Regions from separate parts of the Homo sapiens genome. Here region 1 is linked to region 2. Evidence: promoter capture Hi-C in 16 types of primary human blood cells and fetal thymus (Javierre and others, 2016). All regions are on one chromosome and are shown on one strand. The core of a region is centred on a gene start or on the middle of the fragment in contact, and the rest is flanking DNA. Distances in the headings are between cores, read along the strand shown.

Region 1 (7,629 bases), core at 4,029-6,528, about 31 Mb after region 2:
AAAGTAAGAGTAAAGAGGCAGACACTAAAAACAAGAATAAGTAGTAACAACGTAAAGTCACAAGTAACCACTGGAAACAGTCACATTTAACACTGACTGACTTATGGGCTTATACTGCAGGAAAGAATACCTGTGTATTTGTTTCATTCATTCAACAAGTATTTTACTGAGCACCCATGATGTGCCAAGAACTGTGCTCAGCACCTATAGGCTTCTTAAAAAGTACAGAACATAGCCCCTGCCCTCTAAGAGCTTACAATCTATTACTTGTTGGAAAATTAAAGCAAATTAAGAAACCATAAAACAAGTCAATAACTAGGTGCCAAAATAAGTGAAACGGTAAGAGTTATGGGTAGATTACAAATATTTTCTTTAATAATCTGAAGGGGAGGTATATGTTGGCAAAAGTCATTTTTGAGAAACTTTTGGAGAAGGCAGGACTTGAAATAGTACAACATAGGTAAGCAAAGCAAACTTCATGGTGATACTGAGCTGGGGGCAGGAGGGTAAGAAGAACAGCCTAAGTTTGAAGTTGTGAACTAATATAATCACTCAAGACACCGTGAAAAGACCAGCCTAAGTTCAAATTAGGGAGTGTAAAGACATGCAGCCTTGAATCCTGCTTTGACATGTACTATGGGGAGGTTCTTTAAAGTTAAGCTGTGGAATTTAGATACTATGTTATAGGCACTGAAAGTACTGGAGATTCTTGGGCAAGGAGATAACACATTGAAATCTAAAATTTGTGGGGGCAGGGGGGCATCCTTGAAGCAAGAAAACCAACTCAACTCAAAAACTGTTGAATAACCTAGGCATGGGAGAGTGACGACTTGGGCTCATGTGGTAGCAGGAACTGAAATAAAATAAGATCTATTAGAGCCAGCCTTACTCAATATAGGAGCAAGAAAATCAAACTCATTTGTAAAAAGCAATTATTCATTTATCAGTTTACTGACCAAAGACCAAAAAAAAAAAGCACTGAATAAATAGAATTAGGGAGGCATTACTAAAGGAATTTTCTGTTCTTTCCATATCATCCCATAAAATCTGATATCTACTCTTATCAAATGATCTGAACTGAATCATAGGATGTTAGAGCTGAAAGGGACCTTAACTCAATTACTCTACTCTTCTCACTGATAGAGGAAAATAAAGACTCAAATAGGGAGGAAAAAAAAAGAGCCAGCTAGCATGACTCTGGGGCAAAGGCATAATCATCTGTGATAAAGATGGCAGGACCTGCATGTCCTTTGTGTAGAAAACACAAAAGACATGAAAACAGTATTTACTATGGACACTGAGGAAGAAGACAGCCTCACACATAATTTTATTGATAGAAATCTCTACAGAAAATCTTTATTTTTTTGAGATAGGGTCTCACTTTGTCACCCAGGATGGAGTGCAAGGCGTGATCTTGACTCACTGCAGCCTCGACCTCCCAGGTTCAAGCAATCCTTCTGCCTCAGCCCCCTAAGTAGCTGGGACGACAGACGCACACCACCACACCCAGCTTATTTTTAAATAGTTTTTGTAGAGATGGGGTTTCACCATGTTGCCCAGGCTGGTCTCCAACTCCTGAGCTCAAGCGATGCACCCGCCTCAGCCTCCCAATGGGAAATTTTTGAGTACTGCCATCCAGCAGGGAAAATTCTTTATCTTTCTTTACTAACATTTAACCAGTGATCCTCAAAGCATCTTAAATCACATATTATTTAAAGCTTAAACAACCTGTAAGGTCCCTTTCAGCTATAAGATCCTATAACTCTAAAAGTATGACTTTCCTATAAAGTTATATAGAATAAGAGGCAAATTTAATCTACAAGATAGAAAACTGAAATAAACCTGAAAGAATATTAAGCTCAATTTGATAATCATCAAATATTTATTACTACTAAGAGTCAGCCTAAATGCATGAGATGGCACTCTAGGTCATCTCATGAATTAAGAAAAAAAAAATTTGAACACACCACTTCTTTAAGCTAAATAGCTTGATGCATTTGAGAAATTATGAACCCTGGCTTCCGTACATCATTATGCTACCCAGTCTGCATATTATTTTACAAACAAGTTTTACAGTTTCATGTCATATTGGTAACATTCCAAAGACCACAATTATTTGGCAAGTAAGACTGCCACCAATTTTAGTCTTTAGCTAGTCCCAGCATGAGATGTTCATGCAAACCAGTCAACACATGAAGGTTTTTATAACCTTCAGTCCCAAAGTCTAAAGAATTTGTGAACTGACTTTTTTAAATTGCATGGCAGAACCCTCCCAACTGTCACTACTGTGAATGATACAGACAGACATCCTGCTTCTTCTCAATTATCTTCTGACCACTTATTCCTCCTGAGTACTTCCAAGAGTGGCAGAAGAAATAATGCAGGAAAAAGGATCAATTGTCCTATTTATTATCACCTTTAATTTTTAAAGCAATGTTTACAGAGTTTCAAATATGATTTCTGATTTGAGAATTCAAATTATCCATGCTCTCCCAGTCTGTTATAAAGCTAAAACAAGAATTTGTTTTACCAAGATTTGGGACCCATATTTGTTAGTGAAATATTAAGGGGATAAAAGGGAATTATATAATTCTGACAAAAACAGCGGAGATTCTTTTGGGACTTTCAGGGCATAACTCCTACTAAAACATTTATTTATTATACTAACAGGAGCCTTCAGAGGGAGAAGAATTCTAAACATCTAAATAATTAGGTCTACTTAAAGGCACGTGGCATATATTAGCCTAGGAAAAAGTAGAAGAAAACCACACCAAAAAAATCAGTTATTTGAATGGATGTGTACCGAGTAGCAAGTAAACTTACTAGAAAGATGGTCACTGATACAGCTAAAGAGAAAGGGCCATAAAGCAAACTGTGACCAGCTTATGTCAATGAGATACATGAAAGTACTTTTAAAAAATAAAATCTGCATTTTTTTTTTTAACTAGAACTATGACTAGCTGGTATCTTGGTTTTGGTAGTGCAATAGCACCATTACAGCAAGGGTAAGCAGGTCAATCCCTTGCAAAACTTACCTTGATTGGCCCAATGGAAACAGAAGGCCCCAGAAAAGAGAGAAGCATCTGGCAGTAGCAAATTGTTTTATTTTATCTTTCTGTGGAAAGAAACTAATTTTAAATAAGAACCAGAGCATTTAAAGAATAAATATTTTTAAAGCTCATTATCTAGTTAGAGCAGCTCTACCAAGAAAACAAGAAGAGCTCCTTGCTCCTTAGAGATGGAAAGAAACAGAAGAGGAATCAAAGTTGTTTCTCCATCACCTAGAGAGTTTTAAAATTTGTGTTATTCTAGAGTAACAGAATAAAAGGCTCTTTTATTTAAAGAACTCCTGCAAGCAGAATCTTTTGGGGCTGGTGCCTTTGAATAAAGGTTTTGTTTTGTTTTTTAACAAAATTAAGGGCAATATTCCAAATTAAAAAAAAAAAGAGGAAAATCACTGGACATTAAGCCCTTCTACTCTTAAGGTTAAGTAAAAAGAGACAGACACATAGCAAGCTCCTTTTCCCACTGCAATTTCACCAATAACTTTAACCATGAAAGCTTAAACAATTATCAAACAGTACTAATTAGCAAAAGATCACATGAAATTGGCTTCCAAAATATTTTGTTAGCCTAAATTTTTGATGATTTATGGAAATACTCAAATGGAAATAACCCAGCCACCTAAAGATCTATTATAGAACTTAACATGAAGCACAAAATTACTCATGGTAACTGAACCTGTTACCTTTCTTGGATGCTTCTCTAGAAACTCAGTTCTACCGAAATCACTGAATCAGCATTAAAACCTTTTGATCCAAATCACTCCTACAAAATGTCCATTTACAATTTATGCTAGAGATGGAAGGGACAGCTCATAAGCAGGAGTGTAGAAGCAACAAGCATTAAAAAAAAATAGTATAAGTGGAAAATGAACTACCTATTGGCACTGTCCTATGAAGAATCAGAATTATAGAGCACAAACTCCCCACCCTCCCTCACCCTCCTCCAACACACAAAGAGGAAGATATTTCAGGAATAAAATTCGCTCTAAACCAAAACAATAGCTATTTTCAGATTCTATTTATTTACATGGTCTACCAAAATCAGTTATGTTGCTGTATCAGATAATATTTACTTAGACCATCAACTTCAATTGGCATTCTTGAAAAAATAATCATTAAAAATAAAAGCCTGGATCCACACTTTACTTTTAAATAATAAAGAAAAAAATTCTTAGTTTTGAGGTCATCAGTAAATTTCTCAGAAGACTTTTTCATTATTTAAATTTCTCAGAAGACTTTTCCATTATTCAAATTTCCGTTACAGTCATGATTTAACATTTGGCTTATTTGAAATTATTCGGGCATAAACTAATCATTAAACAGCTATAACTACTGACCTAGATTCTGAAATCTTGATAGAATACCTGAGGCAAAAACAAATAAATAAATGCAAAATAAAACAAAAACAGTCTTACTTGTCCCATTGGTGGCCCTCCCATAGGGGGCATCATCTGCGGCATCATTCCATGAGGTACAGGAGGCATATTCGCTCTCTGACCCATAGGGTGCATTCCCATTGGGGCATAATGCATGCCAGGGTGCCCCATCTGAAAAACAGTGAACATTTTTAAATGAGCAAATAATACTAAATGCTTCTCAAAAATCTCATTTCAACAGATCAGTTATCTGAAGCGACATAATATTAAGCTTATGTGTAATAACATCATTGGATTAGTCTATACCTTGTTTCAAACAAAACGCATTCTGCTAGTATTTAAAACGAGCTTGCAAATTCCGTAAAAAAATGGGAAAAGTTAAGATGAATCCTGGACCGCTGGATCATAGGTTTTCTCTCTCTTTTTTTTAAGCACTGACTTAACCAGCTACTAATTGGCTTGCTAAGCTTGGAGGATACACATTGAATACTAATTTTAAAACTGTTATGGTGAAAACAACAACTCTCCTATTTCATGCAGATATAAAAGATAGCCAGCTATTGTTATTTTATAACACTACTGATTTTAAACTTTAAAATGCTCTATCCAATTAACTCAGGTGAGAGTCGGTCTTACAAAACACAAACAGTATGGCTACCCAGGCACAATTCACTCCTAACAAACTTATTTCCTAACATAACCTTTAAGACAGGTAAAATTCCTTCTGCCAAAAATACATTTTCAAAGACTGAGGTTCTGTCACTCACGGACACTAAATGCAAACAACTAATTCATCCTTTTTAACGCAGTTTAAAAAGACAACTACTTTCTTTACCGATGAGTCCATTGTTCTATGTTTTAAATTAAAACCACCTAATTATCTCCTGCCAATTGTCCCAACAGTTCCCCCTGCAGACCACCCCGACGACTAATGAAAACAAATTTTGGCAGCCGCTGTTAAAGTCTTACAGTATCAAGCCCCTGCCTCCCCCTCCCAGCTAAAATCGGGCCTAAAGCTCCAAGACGCTCACCCCGCCCAAGAGCCAGCACCTTCACCACGCATCTGTCTAGGCCAAGCCCACGGGGAACTTCCAGGGTCTCACATCCTTCTCTTTGTGCATTTCCACCCTCCACTTCTCTCCCTCAGAACATATCCCACCATCTCGAGTTCTTCCTTCGTCCACTCTTATCTTCTTCTCCTTTCGGAGAAAGCTTCCTGTTTCTCACTCCGTTTTTCATTGTGCCGCCTTCCCCCTGCCCCACTGATCCCTTACCGAGGGCCGTCTCCTCAGGAAGCCGTCAGCAGAGACCCAAGAGCCGGAGCAGAGGCTTGAGCCGGACAATCTCCGCTCCCCGTCCCCAGGACCCTGCGAGGGAGGATGGCTCTCCATTTCACTCACCATGAGGCCTCCACGCTCAGCTCCCGTCCCCGGCCTCATCGTCGGGCTCAGACTGCTCCGCCGGCGGCCACTGCCGCTACACATACCAACAAGAAGCGATCTGAGTGGCTGGCGCCCACTGGGGCTAAAGGTTAAAGGCTGCCCTGCGCTACGGGGCGGGATCAGCGGGGCCAACAGGCTGACGGGCTTCCCCGCTGTCCAATCAGAATGCGCCGCCGACACGCAGCTCTGCGGCGATTCGCCCCCAGCCTCAGCCTCACTCGGCGTCGCCTGCATGGGGGGGGGGGAGGAGGAGGACGGAGGAAGTTTCTGCGCCGAGTCCTCCGTCGGGAAAACTCTACCAACTTCCCCAGGGGAAGGGAAGACAACAGTGTCCCAGCTTCCCGAGCTTAGACCGCCTCACCCCGTAGGGGGTGGGGCAGTGGGGGTCTGCCACCTTCACCCTCCCCGCCCGAGTTACGTACGCCCCACAAACCTGAGGCCGCCAGGGGTAGGGTGGAGGGGGCGGGGGTAAGCAGCCTGTAGTGTTAGCGGTGGCTGGGACCGAATGCGCGCGCGCGGTGCTCGAGGCGGAGGGGAGGAGGCGGGGAAGGCGAAAGGAGGGGTTCGGAGGAGAGGGTTCGATCTCCGTACGCACCAGGTGGAGAGCGCGCGCCTGGGGAAGGAGGCGTGTCGAGTAGCGGGAGGGAAGTTGTAGTACGGGTGGGGAGAACCACACTAAAGGGAGATGGGGGTGAGCAGTTAAGGAACCGCGAGAGCGCCAGGTAGAGAGGTGCCCTTAATGGGGGAACCTGGAGAAGAGTGTGAGCGTAGTGGGGAAGAAGGGAGAAGACAAATAGGTTCGGGAATGTGTCTCCGAGGGCGCGAGCGGGCGCTAGGACCCGGCGTCGAAAAGATGAGGCTTTGGGGCTGTCGGGGCGCGCGCTCCCGTTGGTGACGCGGGGGTGGCGGAGGTCTCCGGCCGGGACGAAGCCCCGCAGGGAGTGGATACTCGACAGCCTTCGGCCTCCGCTCGCTTCTCCCTGCGCGCTTTCCTGCTCCCCTTTCCGGCTACAGCCCTGGGGTCGAGCTCTGGTCGAAGCGCATTCCGCCTCTCCTTTGGCCCTGCGGCTTCCTTTGCAACCCGCCGCCCACCCTTGCTCTCCGTGGTTTACCCCTGGGCTCTGAGGCCTGGTGGTAGCGGCCACTGCCGCGGATTGGCTGTTGCGGACCCGGGGCGGGGCAGGTGGGAGAGGCTCGTTCTCCGCGGGTTTCGTTGTGTTTCGCGCCATGTCGTTTGCTGAGAGCGGGTGGCGGTCGGCTCTGCGGCGCCGCGGTCCCGGCACCCCGGGCCCTGTGGCTCGGCCATCGTATTCCTCCTTTACTCAGGGGGACAGCTGGGGTGAAGGCGAAGTCGACGAGGAGGAGGGATGCGACCAAGTGGCCCGCGACCTGCGGGCGGAGTTCTCGGCTGGGGCGTGGTCAGAGCCCAGAAAGCGCTCGGTGCTCCCGCCGGACGGGAACGGGTCGCCCGTTCTGCCCGATAAGCGCAATGGTATCTTTCCCGCGGCCGCGGGCAGCAGAGCCCAGCCTCGGCGGTGGCCGGTCCAGGTCCTCTCTATTCTCTGCTCGCTGCTCTTCGCCATTCTTCTCGCCTTCCTCCTCGCCATCGCCTACTTGATCGTTAAAGGTATTGAAGCCGACGCCTTGAAAGTCTGTCCAGAGTAAAGTTGAGCCAGGGTGTGGCTCTCGTCTCCACCCATCTCCCTTTCCCTCGCGCTAAGCCCTCAGGCTGGCAGCTGCTTTCAC
Region 2 (7,281 bases), core at 2,679-5,178:
TGACATGTACCTGTAATCCCAGCTACTCAGGAGGCTGAGCCAGAAGAATCACTTGAACCTGAGAGGCAGAGGTTGTAGTGAGCTGAGATCGCGCCACTGCACTCCAGCCTGGGCAACAGAATAAGACTCCATCTCAAAAAAGAAAAACTAGGCCAAGAGGGGTGGCTCATGCCTGTAATCCCAGCACTCCAGGAGGCCGAGGTGGGTGGATCACCTGAGGTCAGGAGTTCGAGACCAGCCTGGCCAAAATGGTGAAACCGTGTCTCTACTAAAAATACAAAAATTAGGCCGGGCACAGTGGCTCACACCTGTAATCCCCACACTTTGGGAGGCCGAGGCAGGTGGATCACCTGAGATTGGGAGCTCAAAATCATCCTGACCAATATGGTGAAACCCCATCTCTACTAAAAATACAAAAATTAGCTGGGTGTGGTGGTGCACGCCTATAATCCCAGCTATTCAGGAGGCTGAGGCAGGAGAATCACTTGAATCCGAGAGGCTGAGGGTGCAGTGAGCCAAGACTGTGCCACTGCACTCCAGCCTGGGCAACAGAGTGAGACTCCATTTAAAAAAAAAAAAAAAATTAGCCAGGCATGGTGGCAGGCACCTATAATCCCAGCTACTCGGGAGGCTGGGGCAGGAGAATCACTTGAATCCGGGAGGCGGACATCGCAGTCAGCTGAGGAACTGTGCCACTGCACTCCAGCCCGGGCGACAGAGTGAGACTCCGTCGCAAACAAAACAAAACCAAAACAAAACAAAAAAAAAATGAATAGAATGAAATAGAAAATCAGCGCATCACACAAAACAAGTTTAAATATTGTCTCATTTGGCTTTTATTTCAGTTATGCTTACATGCATATGTATGTGTGCTGGTTTGTGCTGTAAAACTTTTTTTAAAACCCTCATCTTCTTTGTGATGGTAAAAACTTACCTCTTATTGTGAGCCAAAGTCTGCAAAATACTCTTCTAGAAAATTCTGCCTATACCTGTACAAAGATTGTTCCTAGCAGCTTAATCTAAAGAGTTAAAAATATTAAAAAACCTAATGTTCGGGCTGGGCACAGTGGCTCGCTCATGCTTGTAATCCCAGTACCTTGGGAGGCCGAGGTGGGCGGATCATCTGAGGTCAGGAGTTTGAGACCAGCCTGGCCAAAACAGTGTTTAGTAGAAACACTGTTTCTACTAAAAATACAAAAATTAGCCAGGTGCAGTGGCCGGTACCTGTAATCCCAGCCACTCAGGAGGGTGAGGAAAGAGAATCACTTGAATCTGGGAGGCAGAGGTTGCAGTGAGCCGAGATCGCCCCCCAAAACAAAACCTAATGTTCAATAGGAGGGTGGATAAACTTTAGTAACCTAAGTAATGAGCAATGATGATAACAAAGGCAATAGAGTTACATGGATAAAGCTCAGATTATTGAATACAAAAATTCAGCTGAAGAATGATAGAGTAATATAATTTTAAAATAATACCATATGTACATTTATATATGTACACATATGTATTCTAGTACATATATATATAGTAAAAACTTATATATAGCAATGAAAACTGAATTTGTGGCCGGGCGCACTGGCTCACGCCTGTAATCTCAGCACTTTGGGAGGCCGAGGCGGGAGGATCACAAGGTCAGGAGTTCGAGACCAGCCTGGCCAACATAGTGAAACCCCGTCTCTAGTAAAACACACAAAAAATTAGCCAGGCATGGTGGCAGGCGCCTGTAATCCCAGCTACTTGGGAAGGTGACGCAAGGAGAATTGCTTGAACCCGGGAAGCGGAGGTTGCAGTGAGCTGAGATTGTACCACTGCACTCCAGCCCGGGCGACAGTGCAAGCCTCAGTCTCAAAAAAAAGAAAACTGAATTTGTGAATTTAATTCCCTAATTAAAGAAGTTGAAGAGCACTGGGAAGGGTACAAAAGGGACCTCAATTCTACCTACAATCTATCTTTACGACAACTAACAGATGATGGATGTGCACCCTATCCCCCACATGCTAAATCAAATAGGTGTCTATGGCTACAACCAATTAAAGTTTATGTGCGGGGAAAGAAAAGAAAGTGGGTCACTCCTCCACTATTGAAACAAGCTATGTAAAGCGTTTTCTCATTAGAAGGCAGGTATGACACAAATAGTAATTATACTTATATAGTGTTTATTGTGTACCAAGCAATCCTCTAAAGACTTTATATTTAACCTTTGACTAAATACTCCCAGGAAGTTTTACTTATATTTAACAGATCACAACACTGAAACATGGTAAGGTCATATCACTCTAACTAGTAAGGTGTAGAGCCTGACCCCAAACCTCAGCAGTCCAACTCCAGAGTCCTCACCTTTAACTATTCACTATATAAACCTTTGCTATTATAAGGATGCTTGTACCAAAGGCTAACACAAGAAAATGTATAAACCTGGGCCTCATACTAAAGCTCATTTACCAGGACTGTCAATTTAATGTAAGGATTTGGAGAAATGTAAAAAACAAACTTTTACAATAATACTGATTTTGCTCCTGTAGCTGTTTCAGATTCTAAACCTCCTCCACTCTCCTTTTTGGAATGAAATCTGATAAGCAATAATGTATGCGTGAACGTGCTCTTTAATGTCAAGGATAATACACATTTGAAAAACAAAACATTAAATCCAACTGCAAAAATCTTACCCTTTTACTTCTGGACAGCCTGAACCGTGTCACAGTGCCAAACTGGGAGAAATATGAAAAGATCTGGGTTTCGTCAAGTAGGTTAGGTAGGTGGCGCACATAGACTACTCCAGGAGTAAGTTGTTCTTGTTTTTTTCGCTAAAGACGTAAAGACCAGGTAAATTAAATATATAAATAAGAAAATCACATTGTAACAAAACCCCTAGCCCTCGGCCCAAGAACCTATTCTGCATTTCCACTTACCACAGTAGTAATTAAAGAACTGGCTGTTTAGTGTTTCTCTCCCCACAAAGGCCATGGTCAAGCAGTAGTCAACTATCTTTCCAGCCTGGCATCCCAGCACCCAGTATAATATTAGAGCTCAATAACTATGTCAATCAACGGATAAGCAAGGACATCTTTGAACAAGCCATTTTAGATCTTCTGCCCAGAGAACTCTACATAAACGTAGGCTTCAATTTGGTATGCATATTACTGTTTACTCGCACTTCATCGAAAAATTTTCGATACGCTTGTTAACTCTCACGGTACAGATTAGCCTTTCAACGTCTCAGTCATCATAGCCTTACCTCTGTAACAGGAACTTCTAAGTTTTCCTGTGTATTTTATGCTAAAAACCACAGAAAGTATAAGCGATGTCAGGGGCCCTAGTCAGCAAGTGGAACCTGGCAAATACTCTATTTTAATAACTCCCAGATCACCAACCCGGCATACAAACTTCCCGAATGTGTTAAGTCTGGGGCTCCCATTTTTGGGGGAAACGCGGAAGCGTGACAGCTCTAACCCGGAGATAACCTGTGGTATAGGAGCCTATTCCCTCCAGCTGGTTCTTTCTACTGCTTCTGTCACCCCAATACTTCCCCGTTACCCTCCACATGAAGGCTCCAGGGCCTCAGCGGCCAAACCCCTCCATCATTTACCGAACAGCGTAAACCCTTTCGTCTCGGAAACCGTGGCCTGCAAGCTTAAGAGGTCGGTCCCTGATTCGGTCGAATCCACTTGGGAGACCCTGGAGGTAATGAAGGCGAGCACGAAGGCAAGGGGCGCCCGGGCCGGAAACCGTGCAACCCCAGATACCCTCTAGACCCGGTCCATCGCCCCCGCTCGCAGCCTGGGCCAGGGTGCCTGCTCACCTGGGTTATGCGCTTGCGAACCTGCGCCACCTCCTTTTGAAACTCGACATCTTCCTGCGGATTAAGCGACAGGATTGGCCCAGCCGGGCCAGAAAAAGTCGCCATGCCAAAAGCCGCCGACGCTAACCACGCGGCGCTCCCGGAAACGTCGGGCTCCCAGCTCCCCCGAGGCGGAAGTAGAGGCAGGACAGGGGCGGGGCGAAGCGCTAAGGCGAGGCGAGGCGTGGCGAGGGGCGGGGAGGGCCATGAGTCGGGCGCGGGGTTGGAGCAGGAGTTGCCCGGAGAAGCGGGGGCGGGGCACGGGGTGTGGCGAGGCGCGGGGCGGGGCATAAATTGCGCCAGGGGCGAGGGCGGGGCACGAGGTCGTGCCGAGAGACTGGGAGAGGCGTGAGTCGCGCGGAGGCGCGACATGGGGCGTGACGAGGAGCGGAGGGCGGGGCGTGAGTAGCGCCGAGGCGCGGAGGCGGGGCGCAGGGGCGTGCCGAGGCGCGGCAGCGGGGTCTGGGGCTGGGGCTGGGCCGTGGGGAGCTCCCGCACCCTCGGCTGTCGGGGCGCCGGCTGGCTTCGCTTAAGAGTGCCTGAAACAATTACGTTCACGCCTACTTTCAAAAAAGGTCTAAAATAAATTCCAAAACAGTACCTGTGTCCTTGAGATGCTGCTCTCATTCCTCAATTTGCTTATTATTATTATTATTTTTTTTTGAGACAGAGTTTCGCTTTGGTTGCCCAGGCTGGAGTGCAATGGCGCAATCTCGGCTCACTGCAACTTCCAACTTCCGCCTCCCGGGTTCAAGCGATTCTCCTGCCTCAGTCTTCCGAGTAGCTGATTACAGGCGCCCGCCACCACTCCCAGCTTAATTTGTACGTTACCACTCCCAGCTTAATTTGTATGTTTAGTAGAAACGGGGTTTCACCATGTTGGCCAGGCTGGTCTCGAACTCCTGACCTCAGGTGATCCACCCGCCTCAGCCTCCCAAAGTACTGGGATAACAGGCGTGAGCCACCGCGCCCGGCCCTAATTTGGTTATTCTTTCACTCACTTGTGTGTGAGCTCTCCTGTGTGGCCCCGTCCGTCCGCGGCCCTTGGAGAACTTACAGCCTGAGGGCAGCATGGCTGCTTTAAGAGACCAAAGAGGCTTGTGGGGGAGAGGCACACTGGGTGGCGCCGGAGGGTCCCCCTTAGGAGGTGGCGTTAGCACCGAGGCCTGAAGGCTAAAGAGCGGGGTGTGGAGAACCGAGCGCCTGCCGTCCGCTGGACCGGACAGGCCTGCACAGTGTTCCTAGGTCTAGAAAGAAGGACGCGGCAGTGGGGTTGGAGCCCAGCACAGGAGGGAAGAGCTGCGAGGCGGCAGGCTGGAGCCCCATGACTGTGTGTCAAAGTATGAAACTGGGGTTTTGTAAATGCGAGGGGATGGGCGGGTTTAAAGCGAGGCTGTGGCTGTTTGCATCTTTCTTTTCTTTTTTTTTTTTTGAGACGGAGTCTCGTTCTGTCGTCCAGGCTGGAGTGCAGTGGCGCGATTTTGGCTCACTCACTGCAACCTCCGCCTCCTGGGTTCAAGCAATTCTCCTTCCTCAGCCTCCCGACTAGCTGGGACTACAGGTGCACACCACTACTCCCGGCTAATTTTTGTATTTTTAGTAGAAACGAGGTTTCGCCATTTTGGCCAGGCTGGTCGAGAACCCCTGACCTTAAGTGATCTACCCGCCTCGGCCTCCCAAAGTGCTGGGATTACAGGCGTGAGCCACCGCACCCGGCCTGTTTGTACCTTTCAAATACTATTATACTAGTGAGTAACTGAGTGGAGAGGAAGGGTGGGGAGTGGATTGCCGAGGAAGCAGGGAGGTGAGGCGAGAGCGACAGATCAAGCACAGCTGGTGTCAGGGGATAGCTGCGGCCGTGTTCTGGAAGCCGTGAAGGCGGCCCAGGGTGTGTGTGCCCGAAGAGTGGCCTGTGGGCCTGAGGTGGAGGCCCTGGGAGGGAGTGCCAAGCGAGGCCAGCCCACTTCCTCTGACAGACGTGCCTCCCACGCTCACAGTCTTCGCCTCCTTCACCCCTGCACCCTCCGGCTCAGCGCCACCGTCACCCCCAAGGGGGCATCCCTGACCCTGTAGCAAAGTCAGTTCTTCCAGTTAAGCGCTGTCTTCCCATTGTGTTTTCATGGGTAGGCTGGATTTTCGGGAGTGAGCGAGCAAGAGCAATTTGATTCTTTTTCAGGGCTGCCCCTTTCCATGGGCTTGTTCTTGCTCCCCCCAGGATGAAATCTTGGGGAGAGCTCCGCACTTGTGATTGCTCCTCAGATGTCAGTCAATAGAAGCATGTTCCACGCGTTCAAAATCTAATATCAAATGTCTCCTCTCCCCAGCTCAGTGTCTCTGGCAGAGAAATCCCCAAAGGGGAGCACAGTCCACATCGTCTTTATTCTTGGCTCCACTTTCTCTGTACACCCCAGTTTCTGTTTTTGGGCTTTCCAGGATTAGGACAGGGAAGAGAGGGAGGAGAAAGCAGAAAGGGGCTCCTTGCTGGCAGGTGCCACGTGGCCAGGGAGTTTTAGAGGCTGCAAATGCCAGGTTGCTGGCACCTTGTCTCCAAGCACACTTTTGAGGTGTCCCTCACCTGGCTGCTCATGACTCTACCTGCCTGCCAGCCGAGGTCAGCTCTGTGCCCAGAGGCTCCTCCTGGAAGGGCCTTTCCAAGTGGACTTTATCATCCTGATCCTTTAAGAAGGGCCACATGTTTTGTCTGTCACTGCCATGGGATTGCTGCCAGGCAGGCCTCCTGGCTGGCATCACAGATGTTGGTGTATAAACCAGGTACAATCCCTGTATCCCCCAAATTCCAGAGGATGTAGATAAGTTCACTGGTTCCCTGAAGGTACCATCCGTGTCCTCGTGTGTGTGTGCGTGTGTGTGTGTGTGTGTGTGTGTGAACACTCCCCTCCTTCCTGAAGGTGGAATCTTGACATGTCTCATAGCTACTTAGGGGAGATGAGGATACAGGAAGGAATGACGGCAAGCACTTCTCTATGGAAATCCTTTTTCAGGTATTCCCAGTCACCTCCACCTCTATGAGTTCCTGGTCTTGCCTTACATCCCCCCAGGGGGGTAGTGATCCAAGGCTTCTCAAACTTGAATGAGCATGTGGATTGCCTGCACCAGGCAGGTGCTGATTCAGTAGGTCTGAGGTGGCCCAGGTTCTGTGTTCCTAACAAGCTTCCAGAAGAGGCCGATACTCCATAGACCACACTCCGAAGCAGGAATAGAGATTTGTGGCATTGATTACTGGGTCAGAATTCTGGGACAGAATGTATTCTGTCACCCTCAAAAGATTTGTTCAAGTCCTAATCGCTGGTACATGGGTACATGTGAATGAGACTGTACTTGGAGAGTCTTTGAGGATGGAATCACATTAAGATGAGGTCATGACCGGGCACGGTGGCTCACGCCTGTAATCCCAGCACTTTTGGAGGCTGAGGCGGGCAGAT

The links. Contacts are between HindIII fragments. The CHiCAGO score rates a contact against its expected background, and 5 or more counts as called.
Region 1: a fragment that was not itself captured here is called in contact with the fragment with the promoter of NIFK in region 2 in 1 of 17 cell types (fetal thymus); the score reaches 5.3 in fetal thymus.

The regions. Positions count from the first base shown.
Region 1 is chr2:152,711,515-152,719,143 of GRCh38, forward strand. PRPF40A (pre-mRNA processing factor 40A) reads right to left here and starts at 5,947. Exons shown (of 26, transcript NM_001365597.4): 1 at 5,716-5,947; 2 at 4,481-4,612. The coding sequence starts at 5,925. ARL6IP6 (ARF like GTPase 6 interacting protein 6) reads left to right here and starts at 7,106. Exons shown (of 4, transcript NM_152522.7): 1 at 7,106-7,510. The coding sequence starts at 7,111. RefSeq lists enhancers at 5,647-5,946, 6,495-7,200, 6,667-6,736, 6,757-6,846, 7,077-7,276 and 2 more and a silencer at 6,347-6,446. The HindIII fragment of the contact is 745 bases long and covers 4,907-5,651 here.
Region 2 is chr2:121,732,947-121,740,227 of GRCh38, forward strand. NIFK (nucleolar protein interacting with the FHA domain of MKI67) reads right to left here and starts at 3,929. Exons shown (of 7, transcript NM_032390.5): 1 at 3,800-3,929; 2 at 2,667-2,804. The coding sequence starts at 3,904. RefSeq lists an enhancer at 3,816-3,865 and a silencer at 3,966-4,415. The HindIII fragment of the contact is 3,379 bases long and covers 3,629-7,007 here.